7 separate regions of the Homo sapiens genome follow, and regions 1, 2, 3, 4, 5 and 6 are each linked to region 7. The links are contacts of gene promoters, found by promoter capture Hi-C in blood cells and fetal thymus (Javierre and others, 2016). All regions are on one chromosome and are shown on one strand. The core of a region is centred on a gene start or on the middle of the fragment in contact, and the rest is flanking DNA. Distances in the headings are between cores, read along the strand shown. Region 1 has its middle 110 kb from the start of HABP2. Region 2 overlaps VTI1A (vesicle transport through interaction with t-SNAREs 1A). Region 3 has its middle 160 kb from the start of HABP2. Region 4 overlaps VTI1A (vesicle transport through interaction with t-SNAREs 1A). Region 5 overlaps VTI1A (vesicle transport through interaction with t-SNAREs 1A). Region 6 has its middle 180 kb from the start of HABP2. Region 7 holds the start of TCF7L2 (transcription factor 7 like 2).

Region 1 (2,700 bases), core at 162-2,661, 500 kb before region 7:
GATTTTTATTTTTCCCAAGGAGAAGAATGGTGGGGGAGAAATAATTGAACCAAGCTAGAGACAATCCGGGGACTAAGAGACTGAATATACAAACAGAAAATGTTCAGACCATGTATAAAAATAGAACTTTGACCCACAACCTGCAGCAACCTCCTATCTACAACAAACAACCCAGGAAGCCAGTCTGCTGTAAGTCGGATTTATGGGAAGCCAGTTTGCTCTCTCTAGTGACAATCCAGGAAGCTAAACAGCAACCCCTGTAACAATCTGCCTCAAATAGATGGGACTTGATTAATAACTGACACTTCCCTAATTTTTGTCTCCACTTCCAACTTAAGGACCAACCAGAGAAAGCCAAATATGCACCCCAACCAATCAGATAGGATGCCCCCTTTCTAGTTATCCCACACACAGCTCCCCAAAACCAACAGCCTCAAATCTGCACACACCTGAGGCTTCCCTTTTCTCTCTATAAAGCTTTCCCACTCCCCTGGCCTGCCCTTGAGTCTTTGCAAAGGGTGGTGGCTGACTCCCTTGCTATAGCAAGCTCTGAATAAATAGGCTTTGCTTCCCTCACTTGGTTGGTCTTTGTTTATTTCATGCACCTTTCTAGATATTTGTAGAATAAACAATTTCAACCAACTAATGGAATCACCTACTTTCCTGACACATCAGTCAGTGACTGGGTGACTGTCAGCTGCTCCTTCCTTCACATGGCTCTATCCCAGGGCTGTTCCATGATGGTTTCACTGAGGTCTAGAGAGGCCTGAGAGTCAGCATCAGGACCCACTTGGGGGCACAAATGGCATTTGTGGTTAGTGTCCATTATGCTTGCTTGATGCCTTTGCCCGATCTAGTGGTGCCCACCCTGGACTGGTTGTTAAATGATTTGGATATACTGTCCTTCCCACCAGCCCCCGAGCTAAATTGTTGCCATCCTCCTGGCCCAGTTCAACACCATGCTTCTTACTGAAAATTACCATGGAGGATGAATAGTTGTGGGTTGGCTTCTAATCTCAGCACTCACTAGAAGGGCAAGGCACACCCTCGCCCTGGTCCTGTCTCTGCTGCTGTAATATAAGGATTGGATTAAATAATTTTTCTTCCATCCATATCTCACCCTGCCCATCTCTTCCCAGCCCTCATGCATGTTGGGCCTTACAGAAGTCTCAGTCTCAATGGGCTCACCCTTTGGAGAAGGAGGGTGAATTGAGCAAGTGGCATTTCCACTGCCCGGCTGAGCAGAGGCAAATCCAAGGCAGAATCAAGTTCCTGTTTTTCTGCTGTTCCAAATGGTACCATTTAGGCACCACCAACCCTGAGGCTGCCACGCCCTTCGTTATAATTCACAGCTCACAGACTTGATTCCCCTGAGAACACGTTTTTAAAATTGAATGAATCCAGAGTTCACATATGTTGCCTGAATGCGACATTGTGTAATACCTTTTTCCCCCTAACCGTCCAGCCCCCGATTCCCTTAAGAAACTCATTCTCATTGAGTGGCATTAAAAAACAAAACAAAACAAAATCCTCACTCCCACCTAGAGGCCTAGGTCCTGGGGAGCCAGCGCGGAGGAGAGGTTGTCTCCTCTAAAGTTCAGAAATAAAAATGACTTTCTCCTTTCAGCTGCTGTTCCCTGATGTGACTCTGTGATCAGTATCAAATGCTCGGTAGCAAGGATTTCTGTAGAGCCTTCTCAGCTAAAATAGATTTAACCTGCCCGTTGCTCTTTGTCAGAGAACAATGCGTGTAACAATAAGGAGCTGCTATATTGTTCATGCATGAATAGTCCCGATTCCAGATATTTGCTGTTGGGCCCTGTAGATTACCTGCAAAGAACGTCTGGCTCCCTCTGTTGAGAAAGGTTAGGCTACAGGCAAGCACTCCAGGCTGTTTCATGGTAATGAATCAATAGGGGAATGCAATTAATGAAGTCCTATTTCAAAATGGTAGGGAGTCACCTTTTGAAATGGGGTCTGTCTTCTCCAGCCTAATTGCACAGCCCAGGGTGTCTCCAGTTTGAATGGGTCAACTCCACCTGTGAGCAGGGGTTAGGGGCTGGCAGGAGGAGGCAGAGGATGGCAAGCCAGGTTGCTTTGGAGGCTTACTTGGGCAAGCTCTGGAGGAAATGAAACCCATATGGGTGTTATTAACATGTGGCTTGGAACCAGGCAAGCAACAGAGGCACACTGGAAGGGCAAGAGTGTCTTCTGAGTTTCCCATCCTGTTTTTCAGCTGGACAAAATCTTGGTCATCAGGACTCCCACTATGTGGCTACAGATTGAGTATTTGAGAACCCATGACTAGTGCACCGTGGTGTAGGCAGAGAAAAACCCAAGCTTCAGGTCTGGTCTGTCTGAACTCCAACTATTAACCAGCAGTGTGACCTTAGGCAAATGATTTAACCTCACTAGGCACCCCTTGTCTCATCTGGCAGACATGAATATCATCACCGCTTCCCCGCAGGGTTCTTACAAGGAAATATGTTTCCCCAGTAGGAACTCAATCCATGGATGCGGCACACGTTGCTAGTTGGCCTATAGCTGTCCTTCCCTTCTTCCTTACCAAGAGAATCCCAGTTTTGTTCATGACCACAATGTATTCATCCAAGAATAACCCAATTTCTAGCATCCTTTGTAGTTGGGATAGCCACATGACATAGTTCTGGTCAATGAAAATGGGTATTTGCTGGGTAAGTC
Region 2 (2,700 bases), core at 137-2,636, 440 kb after region 7:
GTTCTCTAAAGCAAAGTAAGCCAGGCACAAAAAGACAAATATTACATGTTCTCACTTATATGTGGGAACTAAAAAATTTGATCACATGGAGGTAGACGGTGGAAATATAGGTAACAGGGTCTGGGAAAGTTGAATTAGGAGGAGGAGGAGGGAGGATGAAGAGAAGCAGGTTAAAGGGTGCAAACATTCAGTAAGATGGAACAAATTCAACATCTGACAGCAGAGTAGAGTGAATATACTTAACTTGGGTGGTAGCACCGTAAATAACCTGAATTGAACACTATGCATTATACAAATATGTAAAAAATCTCACATGAGCCAGGCACGGTGGCTCATGCCTGTAATCCCAGCACTTTGGGAGGCCGAGGTGGGCAGATCATGAGGTTGGAGATCTAGACCATCCTTGGCCAACATGGTGAAACCCTGTTTCTACTAAAATACAAAAAATCAGCTGGGCGTGGTGGTACACGCCTGTAGTCCCAGCTACTTGGGAGGCTGAGGCAGGGGAATCACTTGAACCCAGGAGGCGGAGGTTGCAGTGAGCCGAGATCATGCCACTGCACTCCAGCCTGGTGACAGAGCAAGACTCTGAAAAAGAAAAAAAAAAAAAAACCTCACATGTATCCCATACATTTGTACAGATTAAATAAATAAATAAGCAAATGGAGCAAAACGCTAACAAAAGGTAAACCCCGGTAGAGAGTGTATGTTCTTCTTTGTACTACTTTGTACTTTTCAGCAAGTTTGAGATTATTTTCAAATACAAAGCTTAAAATGATCTAAAAATGAAAAGATTAGCAAAAAAGGGGGCAAAGGTCCCTGGTAAGCTAATTTTCAACAAGTAACTAATGTCTGAGATTAGTGAATATCAAATAAATCCTTGAAGAAATGATAGCTAATGTTAAACAAAAACATAAGACCATGATTCCTTTCAAATTCAGGCAATTTAAACTTTTATCCCATATGATGGTGTTTTCCTTTTTTAGCAATAAAATATGAGACTTTATTTTACAGTTTTAAATTAGCAACATACTTTTATTTTTTATTTCACCAATTAGTATGGATTCCAAATCATCCATGGTCAGAGAAGTTCAAAGTTATCAGTTCAAAATAAAAGAGTATTCCATAGCATTTAAAACTATTTGGCAATGAAGTATGAATTCTTTTTCTCTTTCGTTTAACTATAATTGTTTTTGTGGTGGTGGTGGTGGTGGTGGTTTTTTTGAGTCAAAGCCTCACTGTCGTCCATGCTGGAGACCAGTGGCACAGTCATAGCTCACCGAAGCCACAACCTTCCAGTCTCAACCAATCCTTCCACCTCAGCCTCCTGAGTAGCTGGTACTACAGGTGCATGCTGCTACAATCTGCTAACTTTTTAATTATTTTTTTAGAGATGGGGTCTTGCTATGTTGCCCAGGCTGGTTTTGAACTCCTGGCCTCAAGCAATCCCCCATCTCAGCCTCCCGAAATGCTGGGATTACTTCCATAAGCCACCACACCAGGTCCACTTTATTCTAAATAAAAAGTTTTTGGGACAACAATTCTAAATTAGATTGCTTAACAGATAAGAATAAATGCCAGATTGATGTTTATACAAAAATGCCTAGAGGAACTTAATGCAAATCTCACTGGAATGCTTCAGCACTAACCAAAGATCTTTTACCGTGCTCTTAGGTCATTGTCAAATGTTCTTGAAGAGAATACACACTTTCAGGTAGACATGTGCCCAGTAAACTTTAACTCGATTTGGCAACTAAGATATTGCTGATCTGTCTAATTTTGACTGTGATAGCACTGGACAGGGATTGAATGTAATTCTAGTCCTTGCAAAGAACACAGAAGATTTTGGCGTTCTATAAATATGCAATAATAATGGGACCTTAGGGCTAGAAGGGACCTTGAGAGGTCCTTTAGGGTGCCTTGCTCCCTCACAGCATCTTACACTGAATGTATCTTAAAAAGACCTCAGGAAGGAGGTCCCTTACCTTTCACAAAGAAGCTTACCAACCATCACTGGTTACTGGCAGGAATGATTTTTCCAAATTAAACTTAAACCTATGTTCTGCAGTTGCACATGCAGTAGAGATCAATAAACAGCTGCTGACCATATTTGGCATAATAGCTCTTCACAGACGTGAGGACTCTTAACAACTCTACAACTCTCCAACCAGGGAAAATGATCCCAGGACTTTTCTTCATCCATCTAATTTTCCAACTCCTCTGACAGGCACTCCCCAGAATTTTCTCTGAATTATCTTTGGGCATGGTAGCCCCAGTTAGACCCAGAGATGAACATTAGTAAACTCTTCCAGAGTCTCACATGAACCACAGGGCATTCAATCTTAACGCCTGATATGTAAACTGGAAGAGGTCATTCTTTTTTCTTTTTCTTATTTTTGCTCTAATTATATTTCACATTGTAAATGCACCTTAATTTTTAATTGAGTTTTGGGGCTACTTTCTACCACTCCTTTAAATTTGTTTTCTTGGCTGGTATTTTCTTGCCTTTAGAAGAAACAATATTATAAAGTAGAAAGGCCTCGGATTTGGGCAACTGATGAGCCTGGGTTCAAATTCCAGCTTTGTCTTTTAAGCGGTGATTAAGAACTCATATGGACTTCAGGTCTAGCTAAGATAAAGTTAATAAAACAGCAATTATAGTGCTTAGCACATACTAGGAATTAAAAACAACTACTCTGA
Region 3 (2,700 bases), core at 61-2,560, 440 kb before region 7:
CCTACTGAATCAGAAGTGGGCTTCTGCGATCTGGAGTTTAACATGCCTTCCAGGTGATTCCAGCGCATGTTCAAGTTTGAGAAGCATTCATCAACATACGAGTCTTCTACAGAGTGAATGACTGTCAGCTCAGGTCAGGAATATGCACAGCTTCAGCAAGCGAGACAGGGGTGTTGTCCCAAGGGAGAAAAGAGGTCTAGATAATACAACCTGATGGAGGCCAAAAATACCCCTCCCTATTTACTTCGTATTCAACTATGGAGCTCTGATAAAAATCATTAAATATTAAGAGGGCACTTCAAGCTTCTTTGGTACCCCTCAATTAAGTTTATTTTCCAACCCACAGAATGTAACACAGTAGCATGATCTACTTGTCATTCCCACAGCCTTGGGAATTGCACCTAGTGAGTTTCAGACAAAATTCCATTTTGTTCATAGCTGGCACGTGAGCTGAGTCTCCAGCTTGACCAACTGTTTCTTCCTAATTGGACTGTTTCCATATGCCTAGACATTTTAAATAGCAGTCTCCAGAAATAGTCGGGTGCTGAAAACTTGGGTTCAAATAGAGTCCTGGCCCAAGAAAAATTAATGATAGGCCAACCACCTGTACCTTCTTAAAAATGGTAGAAAAATAATCGATACATCAAAAAGTAGGAAAGGGCTCTCTCCTTGTACCCCATCTCCACTACTCTGGGAAAAATACTAAAAATCAAGAAAAACAACACTCGGGTGTGAAACAGATTATGAATCAGCTGGAGGCAAAGAAGTTGCAGTTCTATCCAATTACACAAATTTAATTGGGTGTTAAAAAAAATCCTAGGTCACAACAGTACTTTCTTGGCCAGACAGAGGTCTGTACTGAGAGTGAGTAGCACCTCTATTTGTTAGGAATTGTGATTTCGGGCTGGGGAGGGAAAGCATCACACATTGCTTAGAGTACCCCAAGATGGGCGCCATTTTGACTTTGAGGAATCTGAAGCCTGGTTTGGATGGTAAAGACTTCAAAGTTCTTCTCTGGGACTTAAGAAGGCACGGTCTGAAGCAAGTCCCTCCAAATTCTTTTAGACCATGGGCTACTAGGGAAAGTCCTATATTCAGTCTCTCCCACTCACTTCTTGTAAATCTCAAATCAACATCCAAATATGTAAAAAACTGCACACAACTAGAATGTCTAACTGTGAGAGAAAGGTTGAGAGACTTACGCTACATGGATAACATGGTGACCAGTGAGGCCAGCATAAACATTCATGAAGAATTTCTAATGGCAGGGAGAAATGCCTGTGATCGAGTGTTTAAAAATGTAGGGTACACGATTGTGGTATGGTGTGTTCTCATCAATGTCCAAAAGGACATAGAAAAGTAGCCCGAATTCATAAGTGATTTCCATTCAACGATGGATTGACAGGCAATGGTATTTTCTCTATCTTGTTTTATTGCATTTTATAAAATGCCACAACTTCATGTATTATTAATGTATTATTAATTTCTTTTTTTTTTTTTTTTGAGACAGAGCTTCACTCTTATTGCCCAAGCTGGAGTGCAATGGCATGATCTCGGCTCACTGCAACCTCTACCTCCCAGGTTCAAGTGATTCTCCTGCCTCAGCCTCCCGAATAGCTGGGATTACAGGCACCCACCACCACGCCCAGCTAATTTTTGTATTTTCAATAGAGACAGGGCTTTACCCTGCTGGCCAGGCTAGTCTGTAACTCATGACCTCAGGTGATCCACCTGTCTTGACCTCCCAAAGTGCTAGAATTACGGGCATGAGCCACCGTGCCTGGCCTATTATTTTTTACACAGAAACAATAAGTTTAATTTAAACAAATTTGCTCCTAGTTAGATGTGCCACTTTAATTTGACTGGTCTGTCCTCTGTACCTGGCTCACACTTTTTTCTTTCAAACCCTCTTCTCCAAGCCATTCCTTCACCTGGCATAGTCTCCTTGCTCCTCTCTGCCTATAAAAACTTTCTCCATCCTTCAGCCTATTGGGTCCCCTATTCTTCCATGGAAGCCAATGGGACCATTCCAGTTGTACAGCATCCCCTCTTCTGAACTCCTGTACCACTGTTTCACCTACACCATTTGGGAAGCCTTGGAATGTGAGAATATTTTACTATCAGCATGTCATGGGGCCCAGGCATCAGTACTTTTTAAAACTCCCTAGGTGATTCTGGTATGTAGCCAGGATTGAGAATCACTCTAATCAAGTCAAAAGTCACCTCCTATCTATACAGTAACCATCTGTCCCAGATTTTCTGTGCCAATTCTAATTCGAATGTCTGTCATCGATCCCACATAAACCATAGAAGCTTCACAGAAATCCCAACGTTCCAGTGCTTAACTGTCATTATTATTATTATTATAACCATATTAACCATGTCTCTGAGATGCACTTGGATACCAGACCCACATTACAGTTTTTTGATTGGTTCAGATATATTTGTTTTGAGTTCCACAGGGATTTAGAAAAAAAAAAAAAAAGACACCAAATTAAATTTGTGTTTCAGATGAACAATAAATACTTTTTAAGGATGCATATAGCCCAAATATTGCATGGGAGATACTTATCCTAAAAGTTTATTCAATGTTTACATGAAATGCAAATTTTAACTGGGCATCAGTATTTTATCTGGCAACACTTGGTTCAGAAGAAGGATTTCTGTACTTGAGAGCTTTTACTTTTTTACAGTGGAGCC
Region 4 (2,700 bases), core at 104-2,603, 490 kb after region 7:
TATGATGGAATAAAAATTAGAGATAGATATTTAATGAATCACCTTTGCTAAGAAGAATAAAATCCCAAGAAGCTACTAAAATCTCTTCAATTTAAAAATTGACAAATTCTGAATTATAAAATGCTAATCAGCAATGCTTCACATTTCCACAATGTATAAAACAGGCTAGAGGAAGACATTAGCTTAAACGGCTCTGGCTGTGTGTTAAAATACATTACTGTCTGTACATACCAGTTCTTTCGCTTCTTCAAGCTGTTTCTCCACATTTGCAACCATCTGTTTCTTTTCATCTGAAACAAACAATAATACCAAGAAATTGCTAAAGATACAAATAAATTTAATATTTTAAAACTTCAATTTTTATATGCCTTTTTCCTTTCTGGTCAATCAGATTACAGAACATAAGGCAAAAGAGCATATCATTCTTTGGTGGGTTTGAAACCACTTTAAGCCATTGATTCCAGGCTATCTAGAAACATATAATCTGATAGAATACCTAATTATTAAGAGACACCATTTTTAAGAGAGACCTATTTTTAAGAGAGACTAAAAATTATGTTGCCCTTTAGGAGAGACTAAGTCAACAAGAGCAGATTTGTGCTGGCCTAAGGAATCTGTGAAGTCATAACTTTAATAAATTGGGAATAACTGATTTGTTAATACAATTTAAAAGTTATATACAAAAACACTTCCTAAAACTGGGCAAAAACAATCCTTTAAAAAATTGTACTTTCAGTAGCATGGAGAATCAGGTGTAATGGAATAAATATTTGAAGTTAGGACTACTGATTCCAAACCGAAAGCTACTATCTCACTCAATGGTTATGGGATCCTGGGCAAGAAATTTTTCTCTTTTTTTCTGAGACTCACTCTGTACTCTCTAAAATGGAAATAAAAAATATCTACGGGATTACTTTTAGCTCCAATAAGCTTGATGCAAGTGAAATTACTTTAATATTATAAAGTGCTAAGTCTCTGTATGTGGTTTATTTTTCTAATACAATCAAGTTATAACCCAACTGTAATTCCCTTCTCTAGGAGAGACATGTCCTGGCAGACAATTTCAGAAAGCTTTCCCATACCCTCATTCCAGCCAGTCAGCCTATTTGTTCACATACCCTAGTTAAGTTTTGTGCAAACCAGATGTATTGAACATCTCTAGTTTTTGTCTGCCTAGCATGCTTCTCTTCTCAGGCAACAGCCCCTACTCTCTTCAAAGGCCTTCTTCCTCACCAAGCAGGACAATGAAAATGCTATCTCCATAAAGACTCTGCTTCTTCAGTCACAGTGACTTGGCAAATGACCGGCATCTAATCCTAGCTGGACTAATCTCAGTAACTCAATCCTCTGGCCACATTCATCTGGGAGTTGGGCGGTGGGATAGGCATATATGAACCAGAGAGAACAAAGTTCTAGAGCAAGGGGAAAGCCTTTTCCTTTCTCCTGGTAACGAAAAAATGAGCCTAGAAGCGCTGCTAGCATCCATTGGTCTAGCTCCAAGAAGAAAGCAAGCGTGCAATGGCTGAAAATAAAACCTGCATTTAAAAAGAAACACAACTGAGAGACAGAGAGAGAGAGATATAGTTAGTTCCTGGCTTGAAATAACTGAAATGGCTTGACTTTATAAAAGCTTGACTTTACCATAGTTTGGTTTCTTGAGCCAACAACTTTCTTGTTCTTTATTTAAAACTGGGTTTATGTCACATGGGAGCCTAATGAGACTGACTAACACAACAGACTAGAAAAGTCATGAAGCTTGAAATGGGTACAACACCTACCAGCTGACCAGCCTTCAGAAGGACAGCCAATCCTAAGTGGGGAAGCTTTAATAGAAATTATTATTTCACTGGCCGGGCGCGGTGGCTCACGCCTGTAACCTCAGCACTTTGGGAGGCCTAGATGGGTGGATCACAGGGTCAGAAGTTTGAGACCACCCTGGCAAACATAGTGAAACCCCGTCTCTACTAAAAATACAAAAAATTAGCTGGGTGTGGTGGTGGGCGCCTGTAATCCCAACTACTTGGGAGGCTGAGGCAGGAGAATTGCTTGAACCCGGGAGGTAGAGGTTGCAGTGAGCCGAGATCGCACCATTGCGTTCCAGCCTGGGCAACAGTGCGGGACTCTGTCTCAAAAAAAATAAAAATAAAAATAAAAATAAAAATAAAAATATATATATAATTATTTCACTAAAACAATGATTAGATTATTAGTAGATTCTACTAATCTTAACCCTTTCCCTTTGTTATCCCCAAACTACAGAGGGGGAACAGTTGTCACATAAGGTGTTTTATGTGTACTCACAATATTTCTCCCTAAGAAAAATAAGCCTTTGGGATTACAATTCAACTTGATTTTCCCTCCTTGAAAAGTTAAATCTACATATGGCCAGATTAAATATTTAATAGATGATCCCAAATGTATTTGCTTCTGGGACATTTCAACCCTTTTAGTATCTTCACACAGTTACAGTTAGAATAGACTACATTTTTGTGATAGAGAAAAATACAAAATAAGACAGGCTTATCTTGGATCAAAACTGAGATGGTGTATTTACGTATCAGGAGGAACATCCTGTTCTCTTTAAGGTATTCAGTTGATAGGAAAGTCCATGCCGTGGACCTCCAGGACTAATAAGCATCAGTTTTTCTCATTAGCAAAATAAAACAAAGAAAGAAGCCTCCCTTGACCTGTATTCCCCTT
Region 5 (2,700 bases), core at 177-2,676, 470 kb after region 7:
TACAGGCGTGAACCACCGCGCCCGGCCAATAGTGACTTCTAAATGTTGCCGGGTGTGTCAGTTATTAGAAGCTAGGGAAGAAATGGGAAGGAAATCCAAAGTAATCCAATGTGTATTATGAACTCTAGATAAAAACTCAGTGCAAATATAACTCTAAATAGTAATATAATACAATAATAAAATGATATAAAATAATATGTAATATCATATTTCTTCTTCCTTTAATTCTGACTCTACTATCATAGAGTGATTAATTTCTAAGATGTTTTCTACAAAACAAAATGTGCTAGAATACAAAAGCTATCCAATTCAGAAGGTCATATTCAAGAATGAGATGGAAGATTTCATATTTTAATCCTTTGTGTACGCTCCCACAGTTAGCGCTCTGAAGCAACGCAGAAGAGGGTTTACATTTTCAGGATATTTAAGAAATTTTCTGACCTTGAGATACGTTAGCCTCTAACCTCTTTAATTATAGCATTACCACTTGTTCACAGGAAAGTCACTGACTAAAAAGCAGTGCAGTTCTCCAAGTGTTTTAACATTATCTATTTGACCCTCGCATTTTCCCATTAGGTGGGCAGAGTTGGTATTAGAATCCAGATTTGCAGATAAGGAAACTGAAGCACAGAATGAATATGCCACATGTCCAAGGCCTCCAATCTACACTGCCTGGGCTTTTCTGACTATTTCACTTTCTCTTTTGGTAGTATGGTCAAATTTCGCTTGCACACAATATTAGAAAAGTATAGGATTCACTACTTCTAGCAATCTAATAATATATACATAATATTTTTGAAGTATAAATAGAACATTCAACTAGGAGCCCAGGATCATACAAAGATGAAATGGTTAGCACTGAACCACATTCATTCAAAAAAGTAAAAAATTTTAAACTTCACTGAAACTAAAATGAATATAAATCTGCAAGATGCTAGCTATGAGGATAGTAATTTTCTCCTAAGCTTTACTTTAAAAATTACATTTCCATAAGTAAGACAACTCTAGCCTTACTTCAGATGAATTTTTTGTAGACTAGGTTTGTAGAAAAAGGTCAAAATAAGAAAACAATGAAACAAAAAAGTCAGTCATTCAATATGCAAAGATGCAATACTCCATTATGAAAATCAAAAGGTATCAGATAAAAAATTCAGAAGAGATTAACAAAGGGCATCCTTGTTTTAAAGTACAAAATACAGTTTTAAGGAACTCATTTGATTTCTATAATCAGACATTTCACACCAAGGCCAATGCCATGCAATGTGACTTTCCAAAGCATAAAATCTAACACTCTTTCTCCATTTTAATAATGCAATTGCAGGTCAAATTCTTCATGACTAATAAAAGAAGTCTTCATTTCACAGTACATTTCCAAGTCCAAGACAGTGGTAACTTGTTTAAATAATACTTAACAGAACCAAATGGAGAATGAGAAAATTTGGACATTTCCTTAGAATCTTCTTTGATGGAGCTTGACCTGTAATAGCTTTGGTGTATTTGCAAAGATGAGGAGCCTCAAGAACTAATAAAATGCACTGAGGATGGAGTCACGTTTCTAGAGGTTTCCCAATATGATCGCACTTAAGCATTTCAGAGGCATTTCTAGCAAAGGCTTTTTAATCCATGATCTGATGAACTTCTTAAAAGAAAAGCCAAAAGCACAATTTGACTGCACAGTTGTTATTTGTTTTTACTCCTAAAACATAGTTCATCCAGTTTTGGGAACTAAAGGACACAAAGTCAAACAAAACAATATAAGCAAAAAATGAGACTATTTGTACACATGGTCCATTCTCTGCTAGGTTTATGAGGACTTGAAATCATCAGAAAAGTCTCTGGCAAAATCTATTCTAGTCCCAATTTAACTTCTTGTATAAGAAAGCTTAAAATAGTTGACATAGCAAAACTCAACCACTATTACACAGTTTAAAAATCTTCACCCTAGAGATCAGATCTGGCTCAGTCTTTACCACCACCAGCTAAACTCACCTAAAAGCTATATGCTAAGTCAAAAGTGCCTAACCCATTTTAAATTTTGTTCCACATCTCACAAATGTGGAACTGGGTAAAGCCAATAAGAATGGTATGAAAGCAACTGAAGACTTATGAAAAAAGAAATGAGACACTGGAATCATGATGTGTCATTTCAAATTGCTACCTTACTTCAGTTTGGCAAAGCACAAAATTGACACACTTTATTCAAATACTTTTGTAACCCTAGGGCCAAAGTATGAAATCTTCTAGTTCAGTTTGTGGTATTAAATTGTGAGTTTCAAGAATTCTAGAACGTAAGTAAGCCTTAAGAGGACAATGAACATGTGGACATCACTACCATACTGAGCCATCACCTTAAGGCCTCTGTTCCCTTCAGCAACATCACTACCACAGCATCACTGTTTCTTCTTTAATGTTTGATATTCTACCAGGAGAGTGACTAGCAAGTACGTTCATAAAAGGCATTTCATTTAAAAATCAATTAGCTACTTTTCTTTCCAAGTAATAGTATACCATACATGAAAAATGAGAGTGACTCAAAGGGAAAGCCAAGGAAAAGGTTTGTCTTTTAAACTATGCAGTACTTTTCCCAGGGAAATTAAACGGAGATTCCACTAGTCTTGATAACACAGTTTCTGGCCATATATTTGCAGAATATTGGACTACTGTTGACCATGGGACAGTCTGTAAGCAACCACTAAAAAG
Region 6 (2,700 bases), core at 78-2,577, 420 kb before region 7:
GGCCATCCAGTGGCCCTTTGGTAGAGAGCCACATCTGGAACCCCCAATATTCTCACCAGTGTGGTGATAAACAAATCTTGTCCTTATGATCACAAGTCCTACAGAAATAATTCCATCTGAGTGTGCAGGGTTAGGCCTGAGTGCTGGATGTTACAGCTATAACCGGTGGATTCTCCTTTGCATCTGTCAAACATTTAACACCTGGAGAAGCAACCAGATGAATCCTCCTGACTAACAACTTGTCTGTCTAAACCAGGCTCCCAAGTAAAATAATCTAGCTTGAACTCTCTGGGCCTCAGTGTTCTCCTTTGTAAAATGAAGGGGTGGTACTAGAATCCCTTTCCAATGGGGAGGTTGCATGAATCTCTACACACAGAGAGGGTAGGATCACCCACTGATTTCTTTTTTAGAGAGAGATGAGATCTCACTATGTTGGCCAGGTTGGTCTTGAACTCCTGGCCTCAAGCAATTGTCCCACCTCAGCTTCCCCAAGTGCTGGGATTACAGGGATGAGCCACCATGCCCTGCCCTCACTCAGTGGTTTCTGAAGACAGAAGGAGAGAGTTCAAATGTAAGTTCTGCCACTTACTAGCTGTCCATACCTGGGAAATATACCTCTAACCCTAAATATCAATTTCTAATCTGTAAATGAAGAACAGTGACAGCGCCCACCTGGTAGGGGCCTCCCAGGGCTTAAATGATCATATTAAATGCTCAGCACAATGTGCCCAACACACAGTAGGTGTGCAATGAGTGTTAGAGTCTTTCAGATCTCCCTGAAATGGATCCGTCTTGCAGATTATCACAGCCACCCGCAACACCCTATGACACACATACAGAATGACTTGATGTCCTTGATAAATGTTGCTTTTATTAATTAACTCTGTGTGAGGGAAAACTGAAGCAAAGGGATGGAGGGTGTAGGAGTAAAACCTCCAGAGCTGTGAAAAATTCCTGAGTTATTATCCAAATAATCTGGTGGCTTGGCAAAAAGAAAAGGAGAAAAAAATCCCTTACCAAGCACATATTCTGCTGGTTTTCAAACGCGAGTGTGTATTTCAATGGCAATTTAATCCATGTGTTTCTTAGTCTTCTGTACTTAAACTATCAAAGTATTGTTTGAAAATAATAATTTGATGTCCAATAAACAGTCTTTCCTTTTGAGTTTCCCATGCAACCACCTGTGTGATTGTTCCCTGAAAGGTGAGTAGCCCAGTTGAGTCTCAAGGTGCCTACCTACCCATACCTGAGCAGCTGTCCTTATGACCCTCTCCTCTTGGTTAAGATGGACCGGTGTGGTCATTTGACCTGGGGTGACCATCCATGGCCCCCTCTGAGCATGACTTAAAGAGATGTGCTTAGCCAATCTTTCTGTTGGGGATATGAACAAAGTGAGACAGAATGAAACTGCTAGTGAGCTATGGGTGCTAGAGTTGCATGGTTATGTCAATACCAGGCTAGGGGCATAATGGTCTATTTTAGTGTATTCCCACGGAAGTAGAACCTTGAGTCTATTTGGGAGGTGGTCCCAGAAAATACTGATTAGGAAATGGGAAAGTGGGACAGGACAGGGTAGGAGCCAATGAAACACATTTTCACTGTGGGGTAGCCTTGCTGGGGAACTCTGAGAGTCAAAGCAGAACATGTGCTTCAGAGTTATCTTGGCCAAGGGGTGAGGGAGTTGGGGTATTTATCCTTTAACTGCTATCAGTTGTTGGTCGAGAACTGCTTGAAGGGGTGTTAGTTCCCTAGCACTACTGGCCTGCCCTGTAAGAAAGCCCTCAGCAAAGAGTCACAAGTATTGGCAGTTAAGCCATGAACTATTGTGCCCAGAAGTGATGAGTGTTGACGGCATTTGTGCAAGGCACTGACAGCACCTCTACATGGGCTTGCATGAAACAGAATCTCCAATAGAGAGAGAGATAATAGAACAGAACATCAGTAATGGCACAGAAAAGAATGGGAAGCAGGAGTGGAGAGAGAGAGAGGAGGCCCTTCATTCCTTTCCTACTTCAAACCTAATAGTTCAACTTTTTCTAGATTCCCATGAAGACTCTGTATCTTTACACCCCCTCCACCCCACCCCCATTTCCTTGAGCCAGTTAGAATGGATTTCTGTTTCTTGTTCAAGAAAGAAAGAATTTTCCTATCCTTGCATTACCAGCAATCACAGAGATTCAGAATCTCAGAGAAGATACCCTAACTTCTTCATCCCATCACATTAGTAGCCGTTTTGGTTGCAAGCAACAGAAACGAACACTGATGAACTTAGCAACAAAAAAAATGAATCTACTGGAAGGATTTGAGGTACACAGTGGGGGAGAGGAAAGCCACAGAACCCAGCTAGGGATGGATAGGAACCAGATATAAGGTCTCTGTGGCAGGAACCCCTTGATCTTCTCATCTGGGCATTGCTACTGTAAAGAAGGAGCACCAACCATTTGTTCATTCTGCCATTCAGTCAGGATTCAGAGGCGAGGGCCCAGCTAGCCAAACTTAGGTCCACCATTGCTTGGCTCTACTGGGCAGTAAGATAAAATGCCTGCAGAGGGTTCTTCAGAAGGAGTGAGAATTCCTGGAAGAAAATGCTATTAGGACAGAGGAAGGGATGCAAGGTGGGGGGCGGGGGGATGTATGCACACACACACACATGTGCATACATGCATGCCCGCACACACACTACACCTATACATTCAGGTA
Region 7 (2,700 bases), core at 88-2,587:
TCCGTTGGGGAGGTAGGGGCTCGTCAGGTCGGGGATCATGATGAAGGGGTAGCCGGGATACGGTGGCCCCTTAAAGAGCCCTCCATCTTGCCTCTTGGCCGCTAACATGGCGGGGCGGCGAGGGGACAGCGGCGGCCGCGCGGAGCGGGAGAGAGTGAGGAGAAACTTTTTAGAAAGTGCCCCGAGGGGCCGGGCGCCCCGACCGGGCCGGCGCAGGGCCAGGCCGAGCCGGGCGCGGGGCCGGGGCGCGCGGGGCGGCCGGCCCGGGGGGCGGCTCCGGGCGGCTGCGGGGCGCGCGGGGCGTACTCACCTTCTTCCAAACTTTCCCGGGATTTGTCTCGGAAACTTTCGGAGCGAGGCGGAGGCCGTCTTTCCGCCTTCCCAGAGGGGTGGAGGTGGGGAGGGCGAGGGGCAAACGCCACGCAGAAGGGGGAGAAGGGGGAGAAAAAGAATCGGCGAGGTCGAGGGGGGGGTAGAAAAAAACAGGGTTACAAGTTTTTGCAATGGTGGCACCGTACGCACACGCCGCCCGCCGGGCCCCGCCGCCGCCCCCAGCCCCGATTTCTCCCCTTTCAGCAACATTTGCCAAGCCCAGGAAACAGATAAAAAACCCCACCAGCCCGAGGGGCTTTTCCTACCTCGGAATCGGAGGAGCTGTTTTGATTCGTTTCTGATTCATTGACTAGAGACGATTTGACATCAGCTAAATCCCTCTCTGCCGAGGAGTTTTCGGAGCTCTTCTCCTCCTGTTCGCCCTCGTCTTTGAAGGAAATCAGTTCGTCGTTGGCGCCTAGGTCATCCCCTCCACCGCCGTTCAGCTGCGGCATTTTTTTTTCACCCACCAGCAGCAATTTTGGAAGAAAAATGAAGGAGGAAGAAAAGCCAAAAAAAATCACCCCCAAAAAGTTTTGCCCCCCCAAAAAATATTGCAAGAAAAAGACGAGTCCAAGGTGAACTTTTTTCTGCTTGGGGGTCTTTTTCTCCTGGGGAGGGGAAAAGAGGGAGGAGGGGAGGGGAAGGGGGGGGAGATCTTCTGCACGCGTGAGTTTGGGTTTCTTTTTTCTCTCGTTCCCAAGGATCCGATCAATGTGCAAAAAAATAATAAATAAAAAAGGGGGGTAAAAAAAAAAAAAACACCAACAACAACAAGAAGTCAGATATAAAGAGCAAAGGGGGGGGGAAGCCGAAGATACAGGAGGTGCTCGTGCCGCTCGGATTTGAGTGAGTTGAAGTTAGACTGAGAGCTTTTCAGTTCAAAGGCGGCGCTGATTGACAGATAGAAAAAGGGGGATCGAAATCCGGAGGAACGGAGTAGTCTGGGAGCGGAGATTATTGACAGGGCGAGAGGAACACACTGCCTTAATGAGATGCCGGAGGGCGGGGCCGGCCCAGTGACGTGTGCATAAATAAACAGCCGGGGTGGGCGGGGCGGGGGCGGCTAACAATGATCCTTTCGGGCGCCGGGAGAGGGAGGAGGGAAAGAAGGAGGAAGAGAGGGGCGGGGAAGCCGGGGGGAGACGGAGGGAGGAGTGTGCAGGGGGAGCGGCCTGCGCGGAGTGTGTGCGAGCCCGGGATTCTGGGCGAGGGTGCAGGGACTTGCTCCGGGAGGGGGCGGTTTCAGAAAGACAATGCGGGGTGGGAGAGGAGGAGAAGGGGGTGGCGACCAAGTCAGGAATCCGAGCCGAGGAAGGCGGAAGGAAAGCCCACTTGGGGGGCGGGGATGGGGAGAGGCCCAAAACAGTGCACTTTAGAAATATTAGAAATAAGTCTTAAGGGAGGGGGAAAAGGAAGGGTAGTATTTGAGAAAGTGGTGGCTGGGGGAGGGGGTGGGGGGGTGCTTGGTGGTTAATTCAGCAGTGAAATCAGCCACCCTTAGACGGGATGCGACAAAAGTGGTCAAAAGGAAAGATCAACCCTCCACTTTCAGAGAGCTTGGGGAAGTGAAGGGGCTGGTCAAAGTTCCTGGTCATCTACAATGAAAGAAACTATTAACCCATGAGGCCTCCCTCCTCCCTTTTTTGTTTATTAGTAGTGAATCATTTCATGAAATGTTAAGTCCCACTAGGATGGATATGCCAAAACGACTTTTTATGCAAAAAACAAATGCTAAATGTCAGAAACATTAAAAGTATCCTTAAGGAAAAATATATGATTCTTTTAAATGTAGAGTGGTGTTTTGCTTTTTTTTTTTTTTTTTTAACTGACGTTGGAGGTAGTAGGAAATGAGCTAGAGTCAAAGTCCTTTTTGACTTAGGAGGTGAAAAGTTTGGGCGTTAACACCGTCAGGGAAAATAAAACTGAAAGTTCACCAACCCCTGGGATCAGTTGGGCTACAGTGTTTCTCGAAGGGGGTCTGAAATGAAATCCCCGAAAGACTGACCAAAATAATCAAGATGTAGGTGGCTCTGGCAGGAAATTGCTAACCAAACCGATGCTAGAAGACCTTCGGGAGAAGATGGGAAACCTGGGGCTTGAGGCAGGTATTTGTTGACTTTTAGGTATTAGAGGAGGAGCAGACTGATTTGCTACAAAATGGGGAATGGAATTATGTTAAAGAGGAAAGACCCAGCTCCCAAAACACAATGTTCCTGGGTGATAGAGCAAGAAAATTCATTTTTGCAAATACCCAGTAAGAAGTAGACTGGACACTACAACATGAAAAAGAGAAAAAAGAAAAAAATAAATCAGTAGGATTTAGCA

What was found. The method cuts DNA at HindIII sites, captures the fragments that hold promoters and counts their contacts. A CHiCAGO score of 5 or more calls a contact.
Region 1: a fragment that was not itself captured here is called in contact with the fragment with the promoter of TCF7L2 in region 7 in 2 of 17 cell types (M1 macrophages and M2 macrophages); the score reaches 8.2 in M1 macrophages.
Region 2: a fragment that was not itself captured here is called in contact with the fragment with the promoter of TCF7L2 in region 7 in 1 of 17 cell types (endothelial precursors); the score reaches 6.5 in endothelial precursors.
Region 3: a fragment that was not itself captured here is called in contact with the fragment with the promoter of TCF7L2 in region 7 in 5 of 17 cell types (M1 macrophages, M2 macrophages, M0 macrophages and 2 more); the score reaches 13.7 in M1 macrophages.
Region 4: a contact is called between a fragment that was not itself captured here and the fragment with the promoter of TCF7L2 in region 7, in 1 of 17 cell types (fetal thymus). The highest score is 5.1, in fetal thymus.
Region 5: a contact is called between a fragment that was not itself captured here and the fragment with the promoter of TCF7L2 in region 7, in 5 of 17 cell types (endothelial precursors, M1 macrophages, fetal thymus and 2 more). The highest score is 11.7, in endothelial precursors.
Region 6: a contact is called between a fragment that was not itself captured here and the fragment with the promoter of TCF7L2 in region 7, in 5 of 17 cell types (fetal thymus, M2 macrophages, M0 macrophages and 2 more). The highest score is 7.8, in fetal thymus.

Annotation. Positions count from the first base shown.
Region 1 is chr10:113,444,444-113,447,143 of GRCh38, reverse strand. No RefSeq gene overlaps it. Among named protein-coding and RNA genes, the nearest start is that of HABP2, 110 kb to the left of the region's middle. The HindIII fragment of the contact is 1,863 bases long and covers 480-2,342 here.
Region 2 is chr10:112,509,158-112,511,857 of GRCh38, reverse strand. The region is part of intron 3 of VTI1A (vesicle transport through interaction with t-SNAREs 1A); the gene reads right to left. Among named protein-coding and RNA genes, the nearest start is that of VTI1A, 63 kb to the right of the region's middle. The HindIII fragment of the contact is 1,231 bases long and covers 771-2,001 here.
Region 3 is chr10:113,391,822-113,394,521 of GRCh38, reverse strand. No RefSeq gene overlaps it. Among named protein-coding and RNA genes, the nearest start is that of HABP2, 160 kb to the left of the region's middle. The HindIII fragment of the contact is 2,010 bases long and covers 306-2,315 here.
Region 4 is chr10:112,458,114-112,460,813 of GRCh38, reverse strand. It overlaps VTI1A (vesicle transport through interaction with t-SNAREs 1A), which reads right to left. Exons shown (of 8, transcript NM_145206.4): 2 at 232-290. Among named protein-coding and RNA genes, the nearest start is that of VTI1A, 12 kb to the right of the region's middle. The HindIII fragment of the contact is 559 bases long and covers 1,074-1,632 here.
Region 5 is chr10:112,476,214-112,478,913 of GRCh38, reverse strand. All of the region lies in intron 3 of VTI1A (vesicle transport through interaction with t-SNAREs 1A), which reads right to left. Among named protein-coding and RNA genes, the nearest start is that of VTI1A, 30 kb to the right of the region's middle. The HindIII fragment of the contact is 917 bases long and covers 968-1,884 here.
Region 6 is chr10:113,371,838-113,374,537 of GRCh38, reverse strand. No RefSeq gene overlaps it. Among named protein-coding and RNA genes, the nearest start is that of HABP2, 180 kb to the left of the region's middle. The HindIII fragment of the contact is 6,058 bases long and covers 1-2,700 here.
Region 7 is chr10:112,948,884-112,951,583 of GRCh38, reverse strand. It overlaps TCF7L2 (transcription factor 7 like 2), which reads right to left and starts at 1,337. Exons shown (of 15, transcript NM_001367943.1): 1 at 639-1,337; 2 at 311-377; 3 at 1-101. The coding sequence starts at 827. LOC124902502 (a long non-coding RNA gene) reads left to right here. Exons shown (of 2, transcript XR_007062291.1): 2 at 577-955. The HindIII fragment of the contact is 8,187 bases long and covers 1-2,700 here.